Linked DNA regions of Homo sapiens: region 1 is linked to region 2. Evidence: promoter capture Hi-C in human tissues and cell types (Jung and others, 2019). All regions are on one chromosome and are shown on one strand. The core of a region is centred on a gene start or on the middle of the fragment in contact, and the rest is flanking DNA. Distances in the headings are between cores, read along the strand shown.

Evidence for each region. Contacts are between HindIII fragments. The study calls those that stand out against the background at their distance.
Region 1: a fragment that was not itself captured here is called in contact with the fragment with the promoter of PTK7 in region 2 in 1 of the 25 tissues and cell types used here (hippocampus).

What each region holds. Positions count from the first base shown.
Region 1 is chr6:42,891,797-42,898,563 of GRCh38, reverse strand. No RefSeq gene overlaps it. Among named protein-coding and RNA genes, the nearest start is that of PEX39, 4.4 kb to the right of the region's middle. The HindIII fragment of the contact is 6,847 bases long and covers 1-6,310 here.
Region 2 is chr6:43,071,959-43,078,396 of GRCh38, reverse strand. PTK7 (protein tyrosine kinase 7 (inactive)) reads right to left here and starts at 2,083. Exons shown (of 20, transcript NM_002821.5): 1 at 1,830-2,083. The coding sequence starts at 1,908. It overlaps KLC4 (kinesin light chain 4), which reads right to left. Exons shown (of 16, transcript NM_201521.3): 12 at 6,142-6,250; 13 at 5,433-5,573; 14 at 5,059-5,174; 15 at 4,432-4,495; 16 at 3,304-3,775. The coding sequence ends at 3,725. KLC4-AS1 (KLC4 antisense RNA 1) reads left to right here and starts at 2,167. Exons shown (of 2, transcript XR_002956347.1): 1 at 2,167-2,702; 2 at 3,130-4,064. RefSeq lists a silencer at 1,996-2,095 and an enhancer at 2,425-2,948. The HindIII fragment of the contact is 20,814 bases long and covers 1-6,438 here.

The DNA of each region.
Region 1 (6,767 bases), core at 1,638-4,137, 180 kb after region 2:
ATTAAACCATAAAAAATAGAAATAAGAAAAGACACATTAAAAACATTAAATGACTTTCAAAAATTGCTAGGAGATATTAATTGGATTCAGCCAACTCTAGGCATCTCTACTTATGCCATGTCAAATTTGTTCTCTATCTTAAGAGGGGATCCAGAATTGAATAGTAAAAGAACATTAACTCCAGAAGCAACTAAAGAAATTGAATTAGTTGAAGAAAAAATTCGGTCAGCACAAGTAAATAGAATAGATCACTTAGCCCCACTCCAACTTTTGATTTTTGCTACTGCACATTCTCCAACAGGCATTATTGCTCAAAATACAGATCTTGTGGAGTGGTTCTTCCTTCCTCATAGTACAATTAAGACTTTTACATTGTACTTGGATCAAATGGCTACATTAATTGGTCAGGCAAGATTACGAATAATAAAATTGTGTGAAAGTGACTCAGATAAAATCATTGTTCCTTTAAACAAGGAACAGGTTAGACAAGCCTTTATCAATTCTGGTGCATGGCAGATTGGTCTTGCTGATTTTGTGGGAATTATTGACAATCATTACCCAAAAACAAAAATCTTCCAGTTTTTAAAATTGACTACTTGGATTTTACCTAAAATTACTAGACATAAACCTTTAGAAAATGCTCTGACAGTGTTTACTGATGGTTCCAGCAATGGAAAAGCGGCTTACACCAGGCCAAAAGAACGACTCATTGAAACTCAATATCACTGGGCTCAAAGAGCAGAGTTGGTTGCTGTCATTACAGTGTTACAAGATTTTAATCAGCCTATTAACATTGTATCAGATTCTGCATATGTAGTACAGGCTACAAAGGATGTTGAGACAGCCCTAATCAAATATAGTATAGATGATCAGTTAAACCAGCTGTTTAATATGTTACAACAAACTGTAAGAAAAAGAAATTTCCCATTTTATGTTACTCATATTCGAGCACATACTAATTTACCAGAGCCTTTAACTAAAGCAAATGAACAAGTTGACTTGCTAGTATCATCTGCATTCCTGGAAGCACAAGAACTTCATGCCTTGACTCATGTAAATGCAACAGGACTAAAAAATAAATTTGACATCACATGGAAACAGGCAAAAAATATTGTACAACATTACACCCAGTGTCAGATTCCACACCTGCCCACTCAGGAGGCAGGAGTTAATCCCAGAGGTCTGTGTCCTAATGCGTTATGGCAAATGGATGTCACACATGTACCTTCAGTTGGAAAATTGTCATTTCTCCATGTGACAGTTGATGCTTATTCACATTTTGTAAGGGCAAACTGCCAGACAGGAGAAAATACTTCCCATGTTAAAAGACATTTATTATCTTGTTTTGCTGTCATGGGAGTTCCAGAAAAAATTAAAACGGATAATGGGCCAGGATACTGTAGTAAAACATTTCAAAAATTCTTAAATCAGTGGAAAATTACACATACAACAGGAATCCCTTATAATTCCCAAGGACAGGCCATAATTGAAAAAACTGATAGAACACTCAAAGCTCAATTGGTTAAACAAAAAAAGGAAAAAAGACAGTAAGGAGTATAACACTCCCCAGATGCAACTTAATCTAGCACTCTATACTTTAAATTTTTTAAACATTTATAGAAATCAAACCACTACTTCTGCAGAACAACATTTTACTGGTAAAAAGAATAGCCCACATGAAGGAAAACTGATTTGGTGGAAAGACAAGAAAAATAAGACATGGGAAATAGGGAAGGTGATAACATGGGAGAGAGGCTTTGCTTGTGTTTCACAAGGAGAAAATCAGCTTCCTGGTTGGATACCCACTAGAAATTTAAAGTTCTACAATGAACCCCTTGGAGATGCGAAGAAAAGCGCCTCTGCGGAGACAAAAAACCCTCAATTGAGCATCATCGACTCGCCAGGTAAATAAAATGGTGATATCAGAAGAACAGATGAAGTTGCCATCCACCAAGGAAGCGGAGCCACCGACTTGGGCCCAATTAAAGAAGCTGACACAGTTAGCTAAAAAAAGCCTAAAGAACACAAGGGTAATGTGAACTCCAGAGAATATACTGCTTACAGCTTTGATTATTATATCAACGGTAGTAAGTCTCCCCATGTCTGCAGGAGCAGCTGCAACTAATTATACTTACTGTGCCTATGTGCCTTTCCCACCCTTAATTTGGGCAGTCACATGGATGGATAATCCTGTTGAAGTATATGTTAATAATAGGGCATGGGTACCAGGCCCCACAGACGATTGTTGCCCTGCCCAACCTAAAGAAGAAGGAATGATGATAAATGTTTCCACTGGGTATCATTATCCTCCTATTTGCCTAGGGAAGGCACCAGGATGTTTAATGCCTACAACCCAAAACTGGTTGGTAGAAGTACCTACCGTCAGTGCCACCAGTAAATTTACTTATCACATGGTAAGTGGAATGTCACTCGGGCCACAGATAAATAATTTAGAGGACGCTTCTTATCAAAGATCATTAAAATCTGGGCCTAAGGGGAAGCCTTGCCCCAAGGAAATTCCCAAAGAATCAAAAAGCCCAGAAGCCTTAGTTTGGGAAGAATGTGTGGCTAATACTGCGGTGGTATTACAAAACAATGAATTTGGAACTACTATAATATTATATAATAGTTATATATTATATTATATTATATACAATTATATTATATATAATTGTATGGGCCAGACTCACTCATGTTTACAGGCCCCATCCATCTGGCCCATTAATCCGGCCTATGATAGTGATTTAATTGAAAGGCTGGACCAGGTTTATAGAAGGCTAGAATCACCCTATCCCTGGAAATGGGGTGAAAAGGGAATTTCATCACCTCGACCAAAGTTAGTTAGTCCTGTTACTGGTCCTAAACATCCAAAATTATGGAAGCTTACTGTGGCCTCGCACTACATTAGAATTTGGTCTGGAAATCAAGCTACAGAAACAAGAAATCGTAAGCCATATTATACTATCAACCTAAATTCCAATCTGACAATTCCTTTACAAAGTTGTGTAAAACCCCCTTATATGCTAGTTATAGAAAACATAGTTATTAAACCAGATTCCCAAACTATAACCTGTGAAAACTGTAGATTGTTTACTTGCATTGATTTGACTTTTAATTGGCAGCGCCATATTCTGCTAGTGAGGGCAAGAGAAGGTGTGCGGATCCCTGTGTCCATGGACCGACAGTGGGAGGCTTCGCCATCTTCCATATTTTAACGGAAGTATTAAAAGGAATTCTAACTAGATCCAAAAGATTTTTACTTTGATTGCAGTGATTATGGGCCTTATTGCAGTCACAGCTACTGCTGCAGCTGCTGGAATTGCTTTACACTCCTCTGTTCAAACTGCAGAATATGTAAATGATTGGCGAAAGAATTCCTCAAAATTGTGGAATTCTCAGACCCAAATAAATCAAAAATTGGCAAACGAAATTAATGATCTTAGACAAACTGTCATTTGGCTGGGAAATAGGCTCATGAGCTTGGAATATCTTTTTCAGTTACAGTGTGACTGGAATATGTCAGATTTTTGTATTACACCCCAAGCCTATAATGAGTCTGAGCATCACTGGGACATGGTTAGATGCCATCTACAGGGAAGAGAAGATAATCTTACTTTAGATATTTCAAAATTAAAATAACAAAATTTTGAGGCATCGAAAGCCCATTTAAATTTGGGAACTGAGGCAATCGTGAAAGCTACTGATGGCCTCACAAATCTTAACACTGTCACTTGGTTAAAAACCATCAGAAGTTCCACTATTGTAAATTTCATATTAATCCTTGTATGCCTGTTCTGTCTGTTGTTAGTCCACAGGTGTATCCACCAGCTCCGAAGAGACAGCGACCAGCAAGAACGGGCCATAACGACGATGGCAGTTTTGTCAAAAAGGGGGATATGTAGGGAAAAGAGAGATCCGACTGTTACTGTGTCTACATAGAAAAGGAAGACATAAGAAACTCCATTTTGATCTGTACCCTGAACAATTGTTTTGCCTTGAGATGCTGTTAATATGTAACTTTAGCCCCAACCTTGTGCTCACGGAAATATGTGTTGTATGGAATCAAGGTTTAAGGGATCTAGGGCTGTGCAGGATGTGCCTTGTTAACAAAATGTTTACAGGCAGTATGCTTGGTAAAAGTCATCGCCATTCTCCATTCTCGATTAACCAGGGGCACAATGCACTGCAGAAAGCCACAGGGACCTCTGCCCAGGAAAGCCAGGTATTGTCCAAGGTTTCTCCCCACTGAGACAGCCTGAGGTATGGCCTCGTGGGACGGGAAAGACCTGACCATCCCCCAGCCCGACACCCGTGAAGGGTCTGTGCTGAGGAGGATTAGTAAAAGAGGAAGGCCTCTTGCGGTTGAGATAAGAGGAAGGCCTCTGTCTCCTGCATGCCCCTGAGAACGGAATGTCTCAGTATAATACCCGATTGTACATTCGTTCTATTCTGAGATAGGAGAAAACCGCCCTGTGGCTGGAGGCGAGATATGCTGGTGGCAATACTGCTGTGTTATTCTTTACTACACTGAGATGTTTGGGTGGAGAGAAGCATATATCTGGCCTATGTGCACATCCAGGCATAGTACCTTCCCTTGAACTTATTTGTGACACAGATTCCTTTGCTCACATGTTTTCTTGCTGACCTTCTCCCCGCTATCACCCTGTTCTCCTGCTGCATTCCCCTTGCTGAGACAGTGAAAATAATAATCAGTAAATGCTGAGGGAACTCAGAGACTGGGGCCAGTGCAGGTCCTCCGTACGCTGAGCGCTGGTCTCCTGGGCCCAGTGTTCTTTCTCTATACTTTGTCTCTGTGTCTTATTTCTTTTTTTAGTCCCTCGTCCCACCTGACGAGAAATACCCGCAGGTGTGGAGGGGCAGGCCACCCCTTCAAAATTCTTTATTATACAACATTCAATATGGTCAGTTTCCTCCAGACTGGCTTCTCAAGCTCTTACCAAGTGCCCCCTACCCCAATTTTTTTTTTTTTAACAGAGTCTCTGTTGCTCAGGCTAGAGTGCAGTGGAACAATCTTGGCTCACTGCAGCCTCAACCTCCTGAGCTCAAGTGATACTCCAGCCTCAGCCTTCCAAGTAGCTGGAACTACTGGTGTGTGCCACCACATCCAGCCAATTTTTGTTTTTGGAGGGGGTCTCACTATGTTGCCCAGGTTAGTCTTGAACTCCTGGGTTCAAGTGATCCTCCTGCCTTGACCACTCCCAAAGTGCTGGGATTATAGGCGTGAGCCACTGCACCGGGCCTACCCCAACTTTTTATTTTGACAAGTTTCAAACCCTCACGTGGATTCACTAATTCTTAGCAATTTTGCCACATTTGCTTTCTTTCTGTCATCATGACACTTCACCTCTACATACTTCAGAATGTATTTGCTATGAACAAGGTAATTCCCACACATAACCACAATTATCACACTTGATAAATTTAACATTGATATATCGTTGTCATCTAATATATGGATCATATTCAAATTTCCCCAAGGGTAAAATGTCCTTTAGAGCTGATCTCCCCTACACAATCTTGCATCTAATCCAGGATCACTCATTGAATTTATTTATTTATTTATATTTTATTTTATTTTTGGAGACAGAGTTTCACTCTGTCTCCCAGTCGGAAGTTGCTGGCAATCACAGCTCAGTGCAACCTCCACCTACCCGGGTTCAAGCGATTCTTCGACCACTGCCTCCAGAATAGCTGGGACTACAGGTGTCCACCACCATGTTCAGCAATTTTTTTTTTTTGTATTTTTTAGTAGAGATGGGGTTTTGCTATATTGCCCAGGCTGGTCTTGAATTCCTGAGTTCAAGCAATCCACCGACCTCAGCCTCCCAAAGTGCTGGGATTAAAGGCATGAGCCACTGTGTCTGGCCTGTATTTATTTTTTATGTCTCCTTTAATCTGGGGTAGTTCTTAGCTTTTTCTTAATGTTTTATAACAACGACATCTGTAAAGTGTCCAGACCAATCATTTTGCAGAATCTCTCTCACTTTGATCTCTATTTCCTCAAGACTAGGTGGTGAGTGAACATTTTTTGGGCATTTTGGGGAGGACTACTACAGAAATGTACTCCCCGTGTGTGTGTCCTTCCCAGTGCATCACATCAGAAGGCACACAAGGCCAGTTTGTCCTATTAAGCTTTTTTTTTTTTTTTTTTTTTGAGACTGAGTCTCACTCTGTTGCCCAGGCTGGAGTGCAGTGGTGTGATCTCATCTCACTGCAACCTCCCTGCCTCCTAGGTTCAAGCAATTCTTCTGCCTCAGCCTCCCAAGTAGGTGGGATTACAGGTGCGCACCACTATGCCTGGCTAATTTTTTTGTATTTTTAGTAGAGATGGGGTTTCGCCATGTTGGCCAGGCTGGTCTCAAACTCCTGATCTCAGGTGACCTGCCCACCTCAGCCTCCCAAAGTGCTGGGATTACAGGTGTGAGCCACCACGCCTGGCCATTAAGCTTTGATTCTTTGATTAAGGTGATGTTCACCAGATCAGTCTAGCTTTTGATACTTTTTTTTTTTTTTTTTGAGACAGAGTTTTGCTGTGTCACCGAGGGTAGAGTGCAGTGCTGCAATCTCAGCTCACTGCAACTTCTGCCTCCCAGGTTCAAGCGATTCTCCTGCCTCAGCCTCCTGAGTAGCTGGGATTACAGGTGCATGCCACCACACCCAGCTAATTTTTGTATTTTTAGTAGAGACGGGGGTTGCCCCATGTTGGTCAGGCTGGTCTCAAACTCCTGACCTTGAGATCCACCTGC
Region 2 (6,438 bases), core at 834-3,333:
TTTAAGGCTCTCATTAAAATGTTCCTTTGTTGAGCACAAGACATCCCCCCACCCCTGAGGAGACTACAGACCTCCTGTCCTAAGCCCTCAGCCTGCCCTAACTTCCCCCAACAGGATCCCCCACACACACGCGCGCACACACACTAAACACCAACCAGTCACCAGATTAAGTCAATTAACATCAGAGTCATCTTCTCATGGAAGGAATTTAGGAATTCAGCATTTGTTGAGCAAGAGCCCCATCTTCACCAGAAACTCCCCTTGACTCTAGTACCCTGAACAGCAGCAGTGAAGGCAGCCTCATTGGGCAGACCCACACACCAAAACCCAACCAGGACAGCCAGGGGGCCTGTGAGCTTGGGCTGCTCGCCCAGATGGCTGGGCCCCCATCCTGGCTGTGCAAAAAAACTTCCATACTTCCTCTGGGAGCAGATGTGGATTCTGCCACGAGCAATAACCACCACACACATCACAAGAAAAACGGGGCAACTCCAGAAACACCTCCTCCAAATCCCTGGAGATTGGTCTCTTTCCTGGGTTACATTTACCTCTCCTTTTACAACTGGGGGCAGGGGAGATGTTGATTCCACCAGCACCAAAACCCCTCCACAGCTGGCAGGCCAGAAAGATATTAGAAAGGCAATTCCTTACCCATGCCCTTCCCATTGCCACCTTCAAAGGAGATGGAAGGTGATCACCTAGGACAGGTCTCCTCGACAGAGCTCCCCAAGAGAAAGCTGCTTCGAGGACCACCAAGGAGTGTTGTGGAGGGTCGGGGGCTTTATTTCCAGTCCGGGCTATTTGGGATGTGCGGGTGGCTTGGTGCTTTCCTGTAAGGCACTTCAACACCTCAGTGATGACTCTTAGGTGTGACCAAGCCAGGAAATAAAAGCTGCGGGAGTTGGGGGGGCGGTGCTGTCTGCCCTGGTGATGAGGGCCACACCCTCGTTAAAATGCTAAGGCCCCCCCCCAAGAAAAGCCAGAATGAGCTCTTTTTGCCTTTCTTCCCTTAGAAATACTTCCTTTCCTCTGTGAGGACAGTCAGGATGGAAATCCAGGAAGGAGCAGAACAAACCCCGTCCGCACCTTTGCAGCCAGGCCATGCCCGATTTTGGCAGCGGCCTTCACACATTAGTCACCGCGACAGCCTGGGACCCTCGGATCCCCGGATTCGGCCCTGGCACGGAGTGGGCGCAGGGTTCCAGACCAGTAGCTAGAGGCCATGGATGGGGGCGGCCCCTAACTCTTCCCTTCTTCCGCCCTCACCCGCAGGGCCATCTGGGGTCTCAGCTTTGCCCAGGAACTCGGAGGAGGGAAGCCGGGAACGTCGGGTCGGCGTAGGTAACAAAGCTCCGCGCTTTGCGCGCCGCAGGTCTGTCCGGCATCGGGCCCCAAACCAGCAACTCTTACCTGGGCCGACCCTGCCGGGTGGGGTGGGGAATTCCTTTTTCTCCATCGCGCTCCCCACGGTGGGTGCGGATGGTCTTTTCTCCCCCGACAAGAAACTCCCCATCTGGGCCCGAGAGCCAGCAACTCTCGGCAGTTCTCGAGCAAACTCTCGGCTCAGACCAGAAAAACTCAGGGAGGCTGGAAATGCGTCCCCGCGGCGCGAGTGGGAGGGGTACCCTGACCGCGTCCCTGGAGGCTTCGCCAGCCTCCCGACACCCGGGCTCCTTGCGCCCTTCCGCCGCAAGCCTGCACCCCCAGCGAGCCTCTCCACTACTCCAGGGCCGTTCCAGCCGCCCAAACCCACCGCCCCGGGCGCAGCCTTTTGCCCACGGGACTCCCGCGCTTCCCAAGCTCTGTGCCCCCAACTCTCGGGTACTCACCGCCCAGCAGCGGCAGCAGCAGGACGCTGAGCAGAGGCAACCGGCGGGGTCTGGCCGGGGATCCCCGCGCAGCTCCCATCGCGGCGGGCTCAGGAAAAGGAGCTGAGGGCGCACGGCGGGCGCGCAGACTGCGCTCCGCGGCGGGCACAGGAGGCGGAGCGCACCGGAGCGCGGGCGCCGCAGCAGCAGCCGCAGCCGGAGCCCGACCCCGAGGCGTCCCGAGGCGTCCCGAGCCGGAGCCGCGCGCGCCCAGTACCTCCGAGTCCCCGCGCGCCGCCGCCGCCGCCGCCAAGCCCCGCCCCACGACGCCCCCTCCCCTCCGGCCCCCGCACGGCGCCCCGCCCCCTCGACGCCCCCTCCTCGCCGAGGCGGGGAGGAGCTCAGTAGGGGGAGGGGTCTGGAGAGGGATGGAGAATAGAGAGAGCAAGGCTCAGGGAAGTGCAGGGGACCTGAGTATTTGCTGTACCCACCACCGACTCTGCAGGGATCCGGGAGAACCTAAGTGACTTGTGCGATTCCGTGGACCCTGGGGAGAATGGTCCATTCTGGGCATACCTGGAGGCTCTGGCCAACAGTTCCCCCAGAATTCTCCAGGTGGGGGCAGGGGAAGAGGCGGGCCCCGCCAACTCTTCAGCAACCCAAAATCTTAACGGCAGACCCAGAACAGCAGGGTGTCCTTAATGTCCCCAAGTAACCTGAAGATGCTGTGTAGCCCGGAGAGGGGCTGAAGTGTGCATGACTGGGGTCTGGTTTGGCTGTAGACCAATCTGAACCCAAAGGTAGAAACACGCTGGGCTCTGAAAGCCAGGCTGAAGTCTGCTAACTGACAAATTCATCCCAAGTCCATCTCCAGGCAGTCTGGGCTGTGTCAGGGTATGGCCAAGTCTCCAGCTGTGGGGAGGCCCAGCACAACCCTTGTTCCAGGCACCCCCACCCCCAGCGCCACCACCCCCACATTCTTTCTTTGTTGTGAAAGCAGCAAGGGGTGTAGGAGGCGGGTCAGGAGGAGTCAAGCTTTAGAAGATGGGCCCCAGCTGCTGCTCAGGCCTCCAAGATATGCTGAGAGGGGATGGATAGTGCCTTGTCTCCCCTCTGGTTCCGGAGGGCCCCCCAGGCCTGTTTAGACCTCCCTTCCCCCAAGCAGCTGGGAGGAGGAATGGCAGCCACAGAGGGCCTCACAGCCAGGAGAAGTGGCGCCAGGACTCCAGGGTCCTGCCACATGGCCACCACATGTCCCTGACAACCCAGTCCACAGCACCTTCTCCTTGGGTTGTGAGCCTCCTTCTTCCCCATCCCCCAGATGCCTTCCTACAGGCCCTGCTGGAGATGATACAAACAACGGGAGGAAGAGAGGAGAGATCCAAGAATCAACACTCCTCCTGCTGCTCCATCCATCACTGCCCCTCACCTTCTGTGAAGGGCCCCAACACAAGCCCTGCTTCATACCCTCTTCAATCAGGACTCAAGTCACAGAAAGGTTACCTGATTCTTTTATTTAAGAAAAGTGAAATACATGGACCTGAAGTGAGACAGCAGAGGGAGGGAGTAAGAGCGGCCAGGGCAAGGCAGCTTGGCTGGCCAGCCCCCAACCCTCTGACTGAAAAGCCAGCAGCAGGCTGCATCTCTGAGGGCCATACCTGCTTTGTACCCACCTTGGGGCCTCAGAGCTAGCTACTCTAGAGGACCACAGGGTGCAGAGAGGGTGTCCTGAGGGTCCTTCCTAAGAGGGATTCCTGAGGAGGGAGCTGAGACCCTAAGGGCAGCAGCAATCTTCTGGTTAAACTGCTCCCCTTCACTGTCCCACCTAGGGGTGGGGAAGAGCCAGGAGCAATGGGGAATGCTGTGAGGGCTGTGGGGGTGGGGGGACCCAGCAGACCTGGGGGCCGGGTTGAATGTCAGCTGCTTGAAGAGAGGTCCATGGTGCTGGCACTGAGGCCCCGGGAGACCTGAAACAGACAACACTACCCCATCAGCTCAGGGACCTCGGCCTCCCAAAGACTGGCTCCTAGAGTCCATCCATCCCATGGTCACAGTGTATCTCTGGACCTAGGATCACATCTGTCTCTGGACCAGTCTATCTCTGGACCTGGGACTTTGTTTAGCCTCTGCTAGGGTTTTCCAGAAGGCCACAATCTGGTGGAGAAGCTACCTGGAAGAACCACATGAATACTGGCATATACTTGTGTGTTGATACAAGAAGTCATTTGCCATTAAAATATCACTAGTGTTTTCTCAGATGGGGATTATTTAATACTTTTCTTTTTCCATTCTCATCTACTACTAAGGCGGCTGCAGGATGAAAAAATAATTCGTATCTCCAAATAATTCTTAAATTATTCATAATTCCAAAGTACCAGTTTACAGAATATTCCTATTTCCCTCCTTATTAACTTATTTGCTACTATGTCTGGCCTGAAACTGTCCCTTGGTGGTCAGCACTCACCACAAGCTATCTGCCTGATTCCTTAATGACTGCAATCCCCTGGCTCATCTTCATCCCAGATGACTCCTCTCCCTTCCCTCTTCCCTTACTCCACTGGGCTTGCTCACTGGCTGTCCTTTTTTCCTCACCCACCAATATGCTCACAAGCACTGCTCTCACCTGGAGGGGTGCTGCACTAGGTTGGTTCAGATAGTTCAAGGAGGCTGCTCGCTTCATGTTGCTGCTACAATGGAAAACGGAAGAATTGAGGCCTCCTCTCTTCCTCCTGAGTGGCCTTAAGGCTGTGGGCCTCTTGAGCACTGCCACACTGGGGCACCCATTCTACCCAAACTCTCTCTCCATGGCTGGCCCGTTGACTTCCTCCCTGTTTCTCTCCGAGATACTTCTCCAGAGATCAGGAGCCAAGAGGAGTTGGAGGCAAGGGCTTACTTTACTTGCCTGCTTTACCATATCTTTTTTTTTTTTCTTTTTTTTTTTGAGACGGAGTCTCGCTGTTGTCGCCTGGGCTGGAGTGCAATGGCATGATCTTGGCTCCCTGCAACCTCTGCCTCCTGGGTTCCAGCAATTCTCCTGCCTCAGCCTCCCAAGTAGCTGAGATTACAGGCACCTGCCACCACACCCGACTAATTTTTGTATTTTTAGGAGAGAGTTTCACCTTGTTGGCCAGGCTGGTCTCAAACTCCTGACCTCAGGTGATCCACCCGCCTCGGCCTCCCAAAGTGCTGGGATTACAGGCGTGAGCCACTGCACCCGGCCACTTTACTGTATCTTGACTTCCATGTATACCTGGAGGGCCGAGGCTCAGTCCCCTGGAGCTTCCTCACCAAGAGTTCACTGCTTCTGCGGAGCACATCCCGGATCTTGCCAAGAGAGCCACTCCTCTGCAGGGTCCCACTGCCATCCTGGCAGAAAGGAGTGAGCAATGAAAGCTACAAGGATCCCACACAGATGGGTTTCTGAGTCTACTCCTAGCATTTATTCTGCACACATCCCCCACCCCCAAGGCCCAGTGACTGGAAATAAAAGTCCTGTCAAAAACTGGCTCCCAGAGATACCCCTGAAGGAATACACTACCTAGACTGGGACAGCATGGCCAAGAGCCTCTCACCACCACCAGCAGGAGTGGGCAGGAGAGATGAAAAGGCAATGATCAGACTTACCCCGGACCACTCCACAGCCACAGAAGCATCTTCACCTCCCTCGAATTTCACACTGTCTCCAGGGCCCTCCTGGGAGGTCCTTCTACCATCACTCTCCCCAAGCAGCTCTGCCACCTTCGTCTGGCTGATAGGGTCAGTGCCCTGGAAGGAAAAGGAAGGACCTGGGACTTCCTACTCCTTAACTCCTCAGGATGGGGCTTTCAAATTTTTTTCACCATCAGCCACTGGAAGGAAAACATTTTTCCTTGTGATGTCTCAGTTTATACCTACTGGAATAATACTTACCTTTTCTATTTGCAATGCATTGCTATATATAGATCTGTATATATTTTTATCCCCATGGCCCATACTGAATTGATTTCACAACCTACTATTGAGACCCACAATCTAAGAAATTCTTGATTTAGGCTCTCCCCAACCTCACTCCTCTCACCCATACCACCCAGGTCCCCTCCTTATGAAAGGGCAGGGTTTCTCCTTCATATCCCCATTTAGTGAATCTTGAAACTAGAGTCCTGACCACAAAATGCAGGTGGGGGGTAAGAACATGCTTAAAAACAACCACAATCACAACACTGCCTCACTTTCCTCTCCCTCCTGGCTTCATCAGCCTTTCCGCTTATTCTTAGGAGACTCCCAAGAAACCTCGGCACTCTCTCATCCCCAGGGCCCTTCCCTCTAGGACCTCCTTCCCCTCTGGGCTTCTGACCTGTCTCCGGGACCGCAGGGCACATTCCTCCAGGGTCTCAGCAGCCTCCAGCTTTCCCTGGCGCCTATACAGAGCTCCCAGGTTTCTCAGAGTAGTGTTCACTGTGGGGCTGTGGTGAGAAAGAGACCAGAGAAGGAAGAGAGAATGAGTTCAGAAAACAAAACATTTGTCTTCCAAGCAAGACAAGAGGAAAAAAAATAAGAAAATAGGAGAGGGAACAGAGCTAAAGCTGAGGGAAAGTCTACGGGAGGAAGGGAAAAGGTCTGGGAGGCTGGGAGCAGGGACTGGATGGAGGGC